5 separate regions of the Homo sapiens genome follow, and regions 1, 2, 4 and 5 are each linked to region 3. The links are contacts of gene promoters, found by promoter capture Hi-C in human tissues and cell types (Jung and others, 2019). All regions are on one chromosome and are shown on one strand. The core of a region is centred on a gene start or on the middle of the fragment in contact, and the rest is flanking DNA. Distances in the headings are between cores, read along the strand shown.

What was found. The method cuts DNA at HindIII sites, captures the fragments that hold promoters and counts their contacts. A contact is called where the count stands out against the background at its distance.
Region 1: a contact is called between a fragment that was not itself captured here and the fragment with the promoter of OPTN in region 3, in 2 of the 25 tissues and cell types used here (dorsolateral prefrontal cortex and mesenchymal stem cells).
Region 2: a contact is called between a fragment that was not itself captured here and the fragment with the promoter of OPTN in region 3, in 1 of the 25 tissues and cell types used here (heart left ventricle).
Region 4: a contact is called between a fragment that was not itself captured here and the fragment with the promoter of OPTN in region 3, in 2 of the 25 tissues and cell types used here (dorsolateral prefrontal cortex and mesenchymal stem cells).
Region 5: a contact is called between a fragment that was not itself captured here and the fragment with the promoter of OPTN in region 3, in 1 of the 25 tissues and cell types used here (mesendoderm cells).

The regions. Positions count from the first base shown.
Region 1 is chr10:12,327,992-12,330,691 of GRCh38, reverse strand. It overlaps the pseudogene RN7SL198P. Among named protein-coding and RNA genes, the nearest start is that of CAMK1D, 20 kb to the left of the region's middle. The HindIII fragment of the contact is 7,709 bases long and covers 1-2,700 here.
Region 2 is chr10:12,134,646-12,137,345 of GRCh38, reverse strand. SEC61A2 (SEC61 translocon subunit alpha 2) reads right to left here. Exons shown (of 12, transcript NM_018144.4): 3 at 1,176-1,241. Among named protein-coding and RNA genes, the nearest start is that of MIR548AK, 5.2 kb to the right of the region's middle. The HindIII fragment of the contact is 9,956 bases long and covers 1-2,700 here.
Region 3 is chr10:13,098,800-13,101,499 of GRCh38, reverse strand. It overlaps OPTN (optineurin), which reads right to left and starts at 1,337. Exons shown (of 15, transcript NM_001008212.2): 1 at 1,198-1,337. It also overlaps a transcript of CCDC3 not described here. RefSeq lists an enhancer at 552-681 and silencers at 962-1,531, 2,002-2,061. The HindIII fragment of the contact is 16,289 bases long and covers 1-2,700 here.
Region 4 is chr10:12,292,542-12,295,241 of GRCh38, reverse strand. No RefSeq gene overlaps it. Among named protein-coding and RNA genes, the nearest start is that of CAMK1D, 56 kb to the left of the region's middle. The HindIII fragment of the contact is 5,976 bases long and covers 1-2,700 here.
Region 5 is chr10:12,442,049-12,444,748 of GRCh38, reverse strand. All of the region lies in intron 1 of CAMK1D (calcium/calmodulin dependent protein kinase ID), which reads right to left. Among named protein-coding and RNA genes, the nearest start is that of CAMK1D, 94 kb to the right of the region's middle. The HindIII fragment of the contact is 6,305 bases long and covers 1-2,700 here.

The DNA.
Region 1 (2,700 bases), core at 160-2,659, 770 kb after region 3:
GGAGAATCACTTGAACCCGGGAGGTGCAGGTTGCAGTAAGCAGATGCACTCCAGCTGGGCGACAGAGAGAGCCTCTGTCTCAAATAAATAATTAATTAAAGAAATAAAGGCATTTTCAACTTAACATAATTTTCAACTTACAATGGTTTGTCAGGACAGAACCCAATCATATAAGTCAGAGAGCATCTGTATTTACTTTGCCAGGTTGTTTTAAGAACATTAGACAGTGAGTGACTGTAAAATACCTAAACCAAAGGCAGTCAATAAATAGTAGCTACTGTTGTTGTCAGGAATTTTCACTTGAAAAACAAGATGACTTGATCAGTTTTATTTGAGCATGAAATAAAAGCATACTTCGGTTACTCAGTTGTTCTGATTATAAAATTATGGTAATTCTTGGCCAGGCATGGTGGCTCACACCTGTAATTCCAGCACTGTGGGAGATCAAGGTGGGAGGATTGCTTGAGGCCAAGAGTGATACCAGCCTGGGCAATGTGACAAAACCCCATCTCTACCAAAAATACAAAAAAATAACTGAGCATGATGGTATGTGCCTTGGTCCCAGCTACTGGGGAGGCTGATGTGGGAGGATTGCTTGAGCCTGGGAGGTCAAGGCTGCAGTGAGCCATCATGGTGCCACTGCACTCCTGCCTGGGTGACAGAGTGAGACCCCCATCTCAAAAAGAAAAAAAAAATTATGGTAATTCTTTATCTAAAAAGCTGCAGAAGAATACAGAATGAGTCAGTCAGCACCCCAGCTTCTATGGCTTAAGGTAAATCACCTTACCATTTCTAAATCACTCCTTGGTTAAAAAAAAAAAAAAAAATGTACCAGTGGCAATGTTTGCTAGAGCATTTATTAAAATAATTTTGGTCAAAGGAAATACCAAAGTTTATCATTAAGATTCCACAGTGACTCTGAATTCCATTTTGAACATCCTTCTTTGATCTCCTTTGGAAATAGCCTGAGTTTTTCCCTTGGGAGGCAAAGGAATCAATTTTTGTTAATCTTGTTTATACTATAGAGGATGCCAAATTTCAAGCACCGAAAGATACTTCTGAAATGGGCCTGAACACAGTGTCAAGGTTTGACAATAGACACATTTCACCATTTTCACTGACGTCAGCTGACAAAGAAGCTGGCATTATCTCTAATAGCCCAAAACTGGAAACAGCCCAAGTGCCCAAACAGTCAAGACTGTTTCCATAAAGAAATGGAATATCAGCCTTTCACTGAAGATAAAGATCCTGTTCAAAATCATATCAAGGGGCCGAACGCGGTGGTTCTCGCCTGTAACCCCAGCACTTTGGGAGGCCTAGGCAGGCGGATCACCTGAGGTCAGGAGTTCAAGACCAGCCTGGCCAACATGGCAAAACCTCGTCTCTACTAAAATATACAAAAATTAGCCGGGTGTGGTGGCACATGCCTGTAATTCCAGCTAATCAGGAGGCAGAGGCGGGAGAATTGCTTGAACCTGGGAGGTGGAGGTTGCAGTGAGCCGAAATTGTGCAACTGCATTCCAACCTGGGTGGCAGAGCAAGACTCTGTCTCAAAAAAAAAATCATATCAAGTAAAAAATTAAAATGAAGTAAGAATGATTGTATTAATCTAACAACCAGGTTTAGAAACTAACAAAGGGAAACAGGATCTTCTGCACAGTAGATGCTGATATGAAGATTTGATCTTGATCCCCAAGAGTGCAGTTTTCTGATATGGTTTTATCTTTAAATACATGTTGGGATTTTTTTGTTTTGTTTTTTGTTTTTGGGGTTTTTTTTTTTTTTAGCTGTATCTGCCAAGCCTTGGGGCATCACCATTCTGGAACCACCTTAGTCCAAGTTCAAAGCTTGGTTTAAAAAAAAAAGTTTCAGCCGTGCACAGTGGCTCACGCCTGTAATCCCAGCACTTTGGGAGGCCAAGGTGGGCGGATCACGAGGTCAGGAGATGGAGACCATCCTGGCTAACACGGTGAAACCCCACCTCTACTAAAAATACAAAAAACAGCCGGGCTTGGTGGTGGGCGCCTGTAGTCCCAGCTACTCAGGAGACTGAGGCAGGAGAATGGCGTGAACCCGGGAGACCGAGCTTGCAGAGAACCGAGATAGCACCACTGCACTCCAGCCTGGGTGACAGTGCAAACTCTGTCTCAAAAAAAAAAAGTTTCAGACCGGGCACAGTGACTCATACCTGTAATCCCAGCACTTTGGGAGGCCAAGATGGGTGGATCACCTGAGGTCAGGAGTTTGAGACCAGCCTGGGCAACATGGCGAAGCCCCATCTCTACTAAAATATAAAAAATCAGCTGGGTGTGGTGACGCTCACCTGTAATCCCAGCTGCTCAGGAGGCTGAGGCAGGAGAATCACTTGGAGCAGGGAGGTGGAGGTTGCAGTGAGCTGAGATGGCACCAGTGCACTCCAGCCTGGGGACAGAGTGAGTCTCAAAAAAAAAAAAAATGTTTCAGAGACAAAATCTTGCTGTCACCCAGGCTGGAGTGTAGTGGTGCCATCACAGCTCACTGTAGCCTTGAACTCCTGGGCTCAAGGGATCCACCTGCCTCAGCCTTCTGAGTAGCTGGGGCTACTGGTGCATGCCACCATGCCCAGTTAATTTTTTTAAAATTATTTTTGTAGAGATGGGGGTCTCACTATGTTGCCCAGGCTTGTCTCAGACTCCTGGCCTCAAGTGATCCTACAACAGC
Region 2 (2,700 bases), core at 131-2,630, 960 kb after region 3:
CTGTCTCAAAAAAAAACCAAAAAACAAAAACCAAAAAAACACTATCATCAAATTTTAGTAATTTTTAAACACAGTACAACCCAAGATTGCAAAAATTTGGTTTTAGCTTGACCCTTTCCCTGCAAAAGAATTGAAAAATTAGCCAGACATGGTGGGGCACACCTGCAGTCCTACCTACTAGGGAGGCTGAGGCAGGAGCATCACCTGAGCCTAGGAGCTGGAGACCAGCCTGGGCAACATAGACCCCGTCTCTATTTAAAAACAAAAAATTGCCAGATAAAAAAGGGTGTGGTGGCTCACGCCTGTAATCCCAGCAATTTGGGAGGCTGAGGCAGGTAGATCACCTGAGGTCAGGAGTTCGAGATAAGCCTGAACAACACAGCAAAACCCCATCTCTACTAAAAATACAAAAATTCAGCTGGGCGTGGTGGCTCACGCCTATAATACCAACACTTTGGGAGGCTGAAGAAGGTGGATAGCTTGAGGTCAGGAGTTCGAGACTAGCCTGGTCAATATAGTGAAACCCCATCTCTACTAAAAATACAAAAATTAGCTGAGCTTGGTGGCATGCACCTGTAATCCCAGCTACTCGGGAGGCTGAGGCAGGAGAATCACTTGAACTGGGGAGGCAGAGGTTGCAGTGAGTCGAGATCATACCACTGCACTCCAGCCTGGGCAACAATGTGAAACTCCATCTCAAAAAATAAAATAAAACAAAAATACAAAAATTAGCTGGGCATGGTGGTAGGCACCCGTAGTCCCACAGCTACTTGGGAGCCCAAGGAAGAAGAGTCACTTGAACCCAGGAGGCAGAGGTTGCAGTGAGCTGAGATCATGCCCCTGCATCCAGCTTGGGCAACAGAGCGAGACTTTAGCTGGGCATGGTAGTAGGAACCTGTAGTCCCAGCTACTTGGGAGGCCAAGGAAGAAGAATCACTTGAACCCAGGAGGCAGAGGTTGCGGTGAGCCGAGATCATGCCCCTGCATCCAGCTTGGGCAACAGAGTGAGACTCCATCTCAAAAAAAAATTAATAATAAAAAATAAAAAGGATAATAATGCTCAATATATTGAGCTCAATGTATTCTTTATTTTAACAAAAAAAATTCTCAAATTCTAACCAATCAAAACCTTAGAACAATGGTGCAGACATTTATTTAATAGTATAGTTACATACCTGACAACACACTAAGAAAATGAAGAGCGTTATAGCAGTCCACAGAACCTTCTCTCTAAACTGGATCTGTACAACAAAATGTAAAGAATCATCAATCAAAACCAAGAAACAGCAAATTTTTGGGGGGCAGCAGAGTTTTGAGGTTATTCTTTGGGGCCTAATTCACAGAAATTGGGAATGTCCGTTATGTGTTATAAAGGAAGCATTTTTGTTTATTAGGTACAAAGTTTTACAAACATTTTTTTCTCTCTCATACATATACACACACGCACACATATATACAGACACACATGCACAGATGCTTCTTGATGACTGGATAAAGAAGATATGCTGTATATAAATAATGAAATACTTCTGAGCCATGAAAAGAATGAAACCATGTCCCTTGCAGCAACCTGGATGGAACGAACTGGAGGAGGTTATCTTAAGTGAAACAACTCAGAAGTGGAAAGTCAAACACTGTGGGCTCTCACTTAAAAGTAGGAGCTAAACAATGTGTACACATGGACATAGAATATGGAATGACAGAAGTGGAGTCTCCGAAGGGTACAGGGGTGGCAGGAAAAGATGGATGATGAGAAATTACTTAATGGGTACAATGAACGTTATCTGGGTGATGGATACACTCAAAGCCCAGACTTCACCACTACATAATACATTCATGTAACAAAACTGCATTTGTGCTACTTATATTTATACAAATTTAAAAAGAGAAATATGTTCTAAAAAATTAAGCTTATATTTTTTTAAATCTACTTTTACTGAGGAAAGAATTTTCAAATCTAGATTTTTCAGTTTCTCTTTTACTTCAAAATTTTTACCTTAAATATTTTTATTTTATTATTATTGTTTTAAATTTTACTTTAAGTTCTAGGATACATGTGCTGAACGTGCCGGTTTGTTACATAGGCAGACATATGCCATGGTGGTTTGCTGCACCTATCAACTTGTCGTCTAGGTTTTAAGCCCCGCATGCATTAGTATTTGTCCTAATGCTCTCCCTCCCCTTTCCCCCTACCCCCACAGGCCCCTGTGTGATGTTCCCCCTCCCTGTATCCACGTGTTCTCACTATTCAGCTCCCATTTACGAGTGAGAACATGTGGTGTTTGGTTTTCGAAACAGCAAATTTAAAGCACAAATCCACACAAAAACGTAACTAAAGTTCCCCATCGTGACATCCTATTATTCACTCTTAAATGCCCCTTTTTGAAGTACTATCCTAGGTAGACTTTTTTTCTTTTTTTTTTTTTTGAGACAGAGTCTCACCCTGTTGCCCAGGCTGCAGCGCAGTGGCGCAGTCTCGGCTCACTGCAACCTCTACCACCCCAGGTTCAAGCGATTCTCCTGCCTCAGCCTCCCGAGAAGCTGGGACTACAGGCGCACGCCACCACGCCCAGCTAATTTTTTTGTATTTTTAGTAGAGTCGGGGCTTCACCATGTTGGCAAGGATGGTCCCCATCTCTTGAGCACCTGCCTCAGCCTCCCAAAGTGCTGGGATTACAGGTGTGAGTCACTGTGCCGGGC
Region 3 (2,700 bases), core at 88-2,587:
CGCCTCTACCTAAGTAAGGGCGGGGGTTCGGCAGGACATAATACAGTGTCCAGTTGCCCTCGAGAATAAAGTTTGGTTTTCCGGGGGTGGGTGGGGGGGTGGGGGGGTGGAGGTTAGGTTAGTTATATTCCTAGCATAATATGCAACCTAAAGGTTAGTTTATAAAAAAAGAAGCTGTTACTTTTATTGTGTTGTACGTAATATATAAAGAACGCCTAAAATTGGCCCAGTGGAAAAACAGATGAATTATGCCAGGACTTAAATCAATGATCGTCCTCTGTCTACAGGTCACATTTAAACTTGCCTTGTCCACTCCAGGGCAATCCCTGGCCTTGGGGTCTGCCCTGGGACTTCTCCAGCCCCCGCCCCAAAACTGGGCCTGTCCTGGGAGGCAGCCTGGCACCACTAACTCTTCTCTCCCTGGGTCAAAAGAGCAAGGTGGGTTCTTCTGTTCACACAGCCTGCACCTTGCTAACCAGATCCAAAGGCTTCTGAGGTCCTCACATTGCCTTACTTTTCTATGCTTTCATTTTCCATTTCATCCTTACAAACAGTTCCTTGGTGTACATTTCCATACAACAGTTTTCCTGCTGGTGGAGGCCAGGTCGGAACCTGGGTTTCATTTTCTTTGAGCGATGTTTACTTCCTGTAGCTTATGCATTTCGATGGCAAAAACAATTCCTTTGGGGTTCTCGGCCTCATCAAATATTCTCTCTATATAGAGTGTACACACTCTCCTAGACACAGCAGTCTATGTGGATTCCCACCGACCCTGGGCACCTCATTCAGCTCGGGTAGTGGTCCCATGTCTCCCACAGGCGTGTCTGTAACCACCTCCTTATGGCGAGGAACTGGCTGCGGAATCCTTCCCAGCCTGCGGGAGGACGTCACCTCCAAGTCTCTGGGTGACTTGTAGAGGGGTTACCTGCGGCCAAGAGGCCGGCCCTGGACCCTTCTTGGGCCCACCCTGTGTTCACTACCCACCCTCTCCCACCAGGTCAGGACCCGCCGAGGCTTGGGGATCCTCCCAGGGCAGCCGTCTCGCGGGAGGGCCGCCCCACCCCTCGCCACCCTCACCCCGACAGGCTCCGGGCCGCGGGGCAGGGCGGCGGGTACCGTTTTCAGGCCGCGGAAGCGCCCGCCGGGAAGGAGCCGCCGCCCCCTCGCCCACCGCTGCAGCCCCCTGCCCTGGCTCACCTGCCGCCCGGCTTGGCTTCGCTCAGGGTCACTGTTTCCTCGGCATCGTGCCGCCTGGAGAGAACTCCCGACCGGGATGGGACGCTGACCAGGGAACCTGCCGGCGGGCGGCGGCGGTGGCGGAGGGGGCAGCCGGGACTGGGGTGCCTAGGGCTGATGCGCGGCCTGGCGACCCCGCCCAGCGCGGCTCAGCTGACAGCCAGCCGCTCCCTGCCCGCGCCGGGGAATTTCCCGGGCCCCGCCCATCCCATACCCCGCCCATCCCCCCCACCCTGCCCATTCCATACCCCACCCGACCAAGGCCCCGCCCCTCCTCTTTCCTGCGTCCGCCCCCAGCTACCCACCCTCGCTGTCCGTGCGGGGTCGAGGCTGGGACCCGGGTGAACAGGGACTGCTCTAAGGCGTCACTGTGACGGCGTTAATCAAAATAAATCATTAATCAAATGCAGTGTGCGGAGTTCGTCTTCCCCGTGTCTTCCCGCAGATCCCGTAGTGGAGGCTGGAGCCGCAGGGGGTCGCTGCCGCCCACAGAAAGAGGAGAATGCCAGGCATCCTCGGAGGGAGGCCTCCATCTGTGTTTTTTGAAAAAAGGTTAACATCTAGACATAGTTAACTGAGCATACATAGCTTTCCACTCGTTTTTGCTTTAAAATACACTCAAAAAGCAGAAAGCCTGCAGGATGCTTCTTGGGCTCTTGTTGCGGACGAATAGGCTCGGCTATTCTTGTTGCTGAAGAATAGCCTCTGCTGGTGTGGAGGAGGGAAGCTGCCCCCGGATTAGACAGCAGGATGACAAGGTAGGAGCGAGAGCCGCCCTATGTGCATCCAGAGTACCCGGGTAGCGCTGCAGGGATGGGAGGGAGGGAAGGAGGGAGGGGGAGAGAGAGAGAGAGGGAGGGACGGAGAGAGGGAGAGAGGGAGGGAGAGAGGGAGGGAGGGAGAGAGGGAGAGAAAAAAAACAAAACAACAACAACAAAACCTAATCTGAAACAGGAAAAAGGCAGATGCGCCCTCTCCTGGTATCTCCGAAGGATTCTGCTTCGCTGTCTGGACCTCCTGCTGCCTGGCCAAGCCTGACTCTCAACCCTGCCCCTGAGGCTAACCCCAAGAGCAGGGCAGAGAAGCAAGCAAGTCAGCGACTGCCCCAGACCCAATTCCGGGCCCTCGAGTTGGTGTGGTGTAGGAGGGGCAGATGAGGCTAGAGGCTGCTTTATAAGGAGTGAGCCTGGGGGTGGGAGTGGGGAGAAATAGAGAATTTAAAAAAATTCTTTTTATATCAGTGCAGGAGGGCCAGGCGCGGTGGCTCACGCCTGTAATCCCAGCACTTTGGGAGGCCAAGGCAGGCAGATCGCAAGGTCCGGAGTTCGAGACCAGCCTGGCCAATATGGTGAAAGCCTGTCTCTACTAAAAATACAAAAATTAGCCGGGCATGATGGTACTCTCCTGTAGTCCCAGCTACTCGGGAGGCTAAGGCAGAAGAATCGCTTGAACCCGGGAGGCAGA
Region 4 (2,700 bases), core at 163-2,662, 810 kb after region 3:
GGATACTTTTTTTTTTTTTGAAATGGAGTCTCGCTCTGTCGCCCAGGCTGGAGTGCAGCGGCACAATCTTGGCTCATAGCAACCTCCGCCTCCTGGGTTCAAGCGATTGTCCTGCCTCAGCCTCCCAAGTAGCTGGGATGACAGGCGCCCACCACCACACCTGGCTAATTTTTGTATTTTTAGTGGGGTTTCACCATTTTGGCCAGGCTGGTCTCAAACTCCTGACCTCAAGTGATCCTCCTGCTGCGGCCTCCCAAAGTGCTGGGATTACAGGTGTGAGCCATCGTGACTGGCTGGTAAACAGGAATACCATGAGCCAGTTGTTATACTATTAGTAGCCTGAATCGGCCACATGTATTTACACCATGAATATCAGCAAATGATACAAATGTGGGCTTACTTTTCCCATAGAGAACTGGTTGACCAGCATGCTGTTACTGAGAAACCCCGGATTTCCATCCAGGTCCTGTTCCTTGCTGCACAGAGAGCCATTCTCTGAGATTTCAACTACTGCCAAGGAAGAAGGCTTTCACTGGGTGCTGCAACCAAGGAGGTGGGAGCTCAGTCTCAAATCCATCTCCCTGACTGACTAAAACTAGGCTTTACTACAGCAGGGAAGAAATGTAACAATGTGTAAGAAAACAGGAACCAGGGAGTGCCAAGGAGGCACCTGCTACCCTGAATCCCTGAGTTTCAGTTCTTTGATACTTTTCTTTTTTTTTTAGACTGAGTCTCGCTCTATCGCCAGGCTGGAGTGCAGTGGTGGGATCTCGGCTCACTGCAACCTCCACCTCCCGGGTTCATGCCATTCTCCTGCCTCAGCCTCCCAAGTAGCTGGGACTACAGGCGCCCGCCACCACACCCAGCTATTTTTTGTATTTTTAGTAGAGACAGGGTTTCATCATGTTGGCCAGGATGGTCTCAAACTCTTGACCTCGTGATCTGCCCACCTCGGCCTCCCAAAGTGCTGGGATTACAGGCGTGAGCCACTGCACCCAGCCGATACTATTTTTTTTTTTTTTTTTTTTTTTTTTGAGGCAGGGTCTTGCTTTGTCACCCAGGCTGGAGTGCAGTGGCGTGATCTCGGCTCACTGCAACCTCCACCTCCCAGGTTCAAGCAGTTCCCCTGCCTCAGCCTCCCAAGTAGCTGGGACTACAGGCACATGCCACCACGCCTGGCTAATATTTTCTATTTTTAGTAGAGACGGGGTTTCACCGTGTTAGCCAGGATACTCTCGATCTGACTTTGTGATCGGCCTGCCTCAGCCTCCCAAAGTGCTGGGATTACCGGTGTGAACCAAGGGGCCCGGCAGATACCTTTTTTATAGGCCCGAAAGGCTTTTCCCGAGGAAGGAACTCAAATTTAAAAAAATACAAGTTTCAAGCTTTAACAGCAGAAGGATTCATTTCTATGTTTATCCAGAAACAACTGTCTCTGGGACTCTTAGGCTGGTTTCAGTACCATGGGTGCATACTGAAGAACGATGCTGAAACCCTTGACAAGGAGAATCACACACCCTTCCCACGTGGACACCCCTCCTGTCTTCTGCTCAGTGCCACTTCAGTAATGGTCTATGTGGAAAGTTGAGTTTCCCCAGGTAGTCAGGAGCATCTTAATGCTACGAAGCCAGGCTTAATGTGGTTGACACATAGGGGTTGTTTAAACAAACAAAAAAAAAACAAACCTTCAGTTGATATATTTTTTTCATTAAGAACGATGCTTTTGGCCGGCCGCGGTGGCTCAAGCTTGTAATCGCAACACTTTGGGAGGCCAAGGCGGGTGGGTCACTTGAGGTCAGGAGTTCGAGACCAGCCTGGCCAGTATGGCGAGACCCCATCTCTACTAAAAATACAAAAAAAACTAGCCAAGCATGGTGGCGCACACCTATAATCTCATTTACTCGGGAGGCTGAGGCAGGAGAATCACCTGGAGGTAAGGGTGGCAGGAGCCAAGACTGCACCACTGCACCCTAGCCTGGGCCACAGAGTGAGACTCCATCTCAAACAAATAAACAAAAATAAATAGATAAATGCAAACAACTAGAAGAATGCACTCTTTGATTCCAATTTCTGTCAAGGTGGGAATGGCTGATACCAGATCTTTTCCTGAGGACAGGTTTGGAGAAGAAGAAGGAAGGGATAAAGAACAGGATTGTTGGGGCCTGAAGAAAGCACGGGAAGTGTGGGCAGCAAGAAATAAGACAGCTGCAGAGTTGAGAGGCCGGCATGTGAATAAAATGTGGCTGATGGTGGCTTCATTATGCCCAGATCCTATCTGATCAAGAAGCTTGTCTTTAGAGCACAAAAGGAGAAATCAACACGAATAGACACCGCAGCTCTCTGTCTTACGCCAGCATCTCCTGGGGGAAGGAGCTCTCGCTACATTCTCTCCTGGAACTGAAAACCAATTCTACTTTACTCTGTGCACATTGATCTAGTTGTCAGTGCTGTAAAAACACCAGTTTATGTCAAAACCAGAAAAACGTATCAGATAAAAGGCAAGATTAGACTAGTGCCTACTGTTGGCAAGTATTTGAGGAAAAGACACTAAAGGAAAGAATTTGGCAATTTGGAGAAGTCTTGAAACAATGCATATACTTTGGGCCAGGCACAGTGGCTCACGCTTGTAATCATAACATTTTGGGAGACCAAAGTGGGTGGATCACTTAAGGCCAGGAGTTCGACACCAGCCTGGCCAAG
Region 5 (2,700 bases), core at 113-2,612, 660 kb after region 3:
CTTAACTCTTTCAACCAATTGCTAATCAGAAAACCTTTGAATGCACCTGTATTCAAAATCTATTCCAAAATCCCTTTCTTTGAATGCACTTGCATTCAGAGATTTTGGAAATCCCTGCTTCAAATTGTTCTGGCTTTCTAGACCAAACCAATGTACACCTTAAATACGATATTGACTGATGTCTGCCTCTAACTTCTGTCCCTCTAAAATGTATAAAACCAAGCTGCACCCCAACCACCTTGGGCACATGTTCACAGGACGTCCTGGGGCTGTATCATAGGCCTTGGTCATTGATATTTGGCTCAGAAGAAACCTCCTTAAATATTTTACAGAGTTTGACTCTTTTCATCGACATCAGCATATACACCTCCTCAAAGCCTCAGAGGCCAAGGAAACGCAGGTTTCCATCATGGTTCTTATGCCTGACTGTCAGAGGCGTTTGAACCAGAGCAACTCCATCTTGAATAGGAGCTGGGTAAAATAAGGCTGAGACCTACTGGGCTGCATTCCCAGATGGTTAAGGCATTCCAAGTCACAGAATAAGATAGGAGATTGGCACAAAACACAGGTCATAAAGACCTTGCTGATAAACCAGGTTGCAGTAAAGAAGCCGGCTGGCCAAAACCCACCAAAACCAAGATGGCGATGACAGTGACCTCTGGTTGTCCTCACTGCTACACTCCCGCCAGCGCCATGACAGATTACAAATGCCATGGTAACGACAGGAAGTTACCCTATATGGTCTAAAAAGGGGGGGCATGAATAATCTGTCCCTTGTTTAGCATATCATCCAGAAAGAACCATAAAAATGGGAAACCAGGCTGGGCACAGTGGCTCATGCCTATAATCCCAGAACTCTGGGAGGCCAAAGTGGCTGGATCACTTGAGGTCAAAAGTTCGAGACCATCCTGGCCAACATGGTGAAACTCCGTCTCTACTGAAAATACAAAAATTAGCCGGGCATGGTGGTAGGTGCCTATAATCCCAGCTACTCAGGAGGCTGAGGCAGGAGAATCGCTTGAACCCGGGGAGCGGAGGCTGTAGTGAGCCAAGATCACTCCACTTTACTCCAGCCTGGGCAAAAGAACGAGACTCCGTCTCAAAAATAAAAAAAAAAATAAAATAAAATAGGAAACCAGCAGTCCTCAGGGCTGCTCTATGGAATAGCCATTCTTTTATTCCTTTACCTTCCGAAGAAACTTGCTTTCACTTTACTCTATAAACTCACCCTGAATTCTTTCTTGTGTGAGATCCAAGAACCCTCTCTTGGGGTCTGGATCAGGACCCCTTTCCTGTAACACGACTATACGAGCACAACACATGGTTCGTGCCTTCGTGAAGGTCATCACGACACTATATTGCAACTACAAGCTTCTATCCTTGTTTCTGTCCCCTCCTGTGTCACCGCAGAGATTCTCAGAATGGAGGCAACATAGGTTAGCCCTCTCTGTTTGACCATGGTACCTGGTGTAGAGTGAGCACCCATCATATCTGTTCCATGAATACTGAATACATTTTACAAATAGGCAAACCCCGAGAAGATCTGCCGCACATAAACGTCTTTCCTCCTCGAGTCAGTTTCACTACTGAGGCTTCACATCTTTGAATCTGTTTTCCAGAGTCCTTAGATACATGGATAAATATATTTCTGAGAGCTCAGTATTTTTGCTACTGCTGTGAGTTCATATGTAGATGGAATAAAGAAAATGGCTCAAAATTGATGGGAAACGTTAGAAAGCAAAGAAATAGTGAGAGAAGAGAAGTAGAAAAGTAAAAGAAATGAGAAGACAAGATAAAATGGGAAGAAAGCAAAGAAATTCCAGACTTTGGCCTGAAATTTGCCATCACACTGCTGTCTCTTGTCATGGTTAAATTTTGGACGTTTCCAAATATACTCACATCTAACATGCTTCTCCTTACAAATGAAACGGATGAAGTCGGTTTTCACTTTTCCTAAAATGCTCAACAATGGTTACAAGTTCCTTTCTGATCCTTTCCTTCTTAGGAAAGAAGAAAAAAACACTCGATATAAAACCTTTCAGAACCTAAACCATGATATCAGCAGGATGACTTTGGACTCAGGAAAAGTCTAGAAAGTCTTTCAAGCTGAGATGCATTTTTGAGGTTTGGGGTGACAAAAAAACTAAAAACAGTGTCTATGTATAGAAGGGCTTTGCAAGTCTATCTGAAATAAAACATTCACAGAATAAAATTCCATTTCCATATAACGTCTAAGAGAAATCAAAGTTTTTTTGTTTGCTTGTTTTTGAGACACAGCCTCTCTCTGTCACCCAGGCTGGAGTGCAGTGGCGCAATCTCAGCTCAGAGCAAGCTCTGCCTCCCGGGTTCACGCCATTCTCCTGCCTCAGCCTCCTGAGTAGGTGGGACTACAGGCACCTGCCACCACATCTGGCTAATTTTTTGTATTTTTAGTAGAGACGAGGTTTCACCATGTTAGCCAGGATGGTCTCCATCTCCTGAACTCGTGATCCGCCTGCCTTGACCTCCCAAAGTGCTGGGATTACAGGCATGAGCCACCGCGCCCGGCCTCAAAGTTTTAAGAAAAACAAGTTATTAAGAAAGACTACCTTCATAGGTCCTTGAGCCTAGAGTTAACATTTTACTGAGTTTTGGTCCATTTGAATTCTTTAATAAGACTTGAAGAATTATTACTGCTGCATTTTATACCATCAAAGAGAT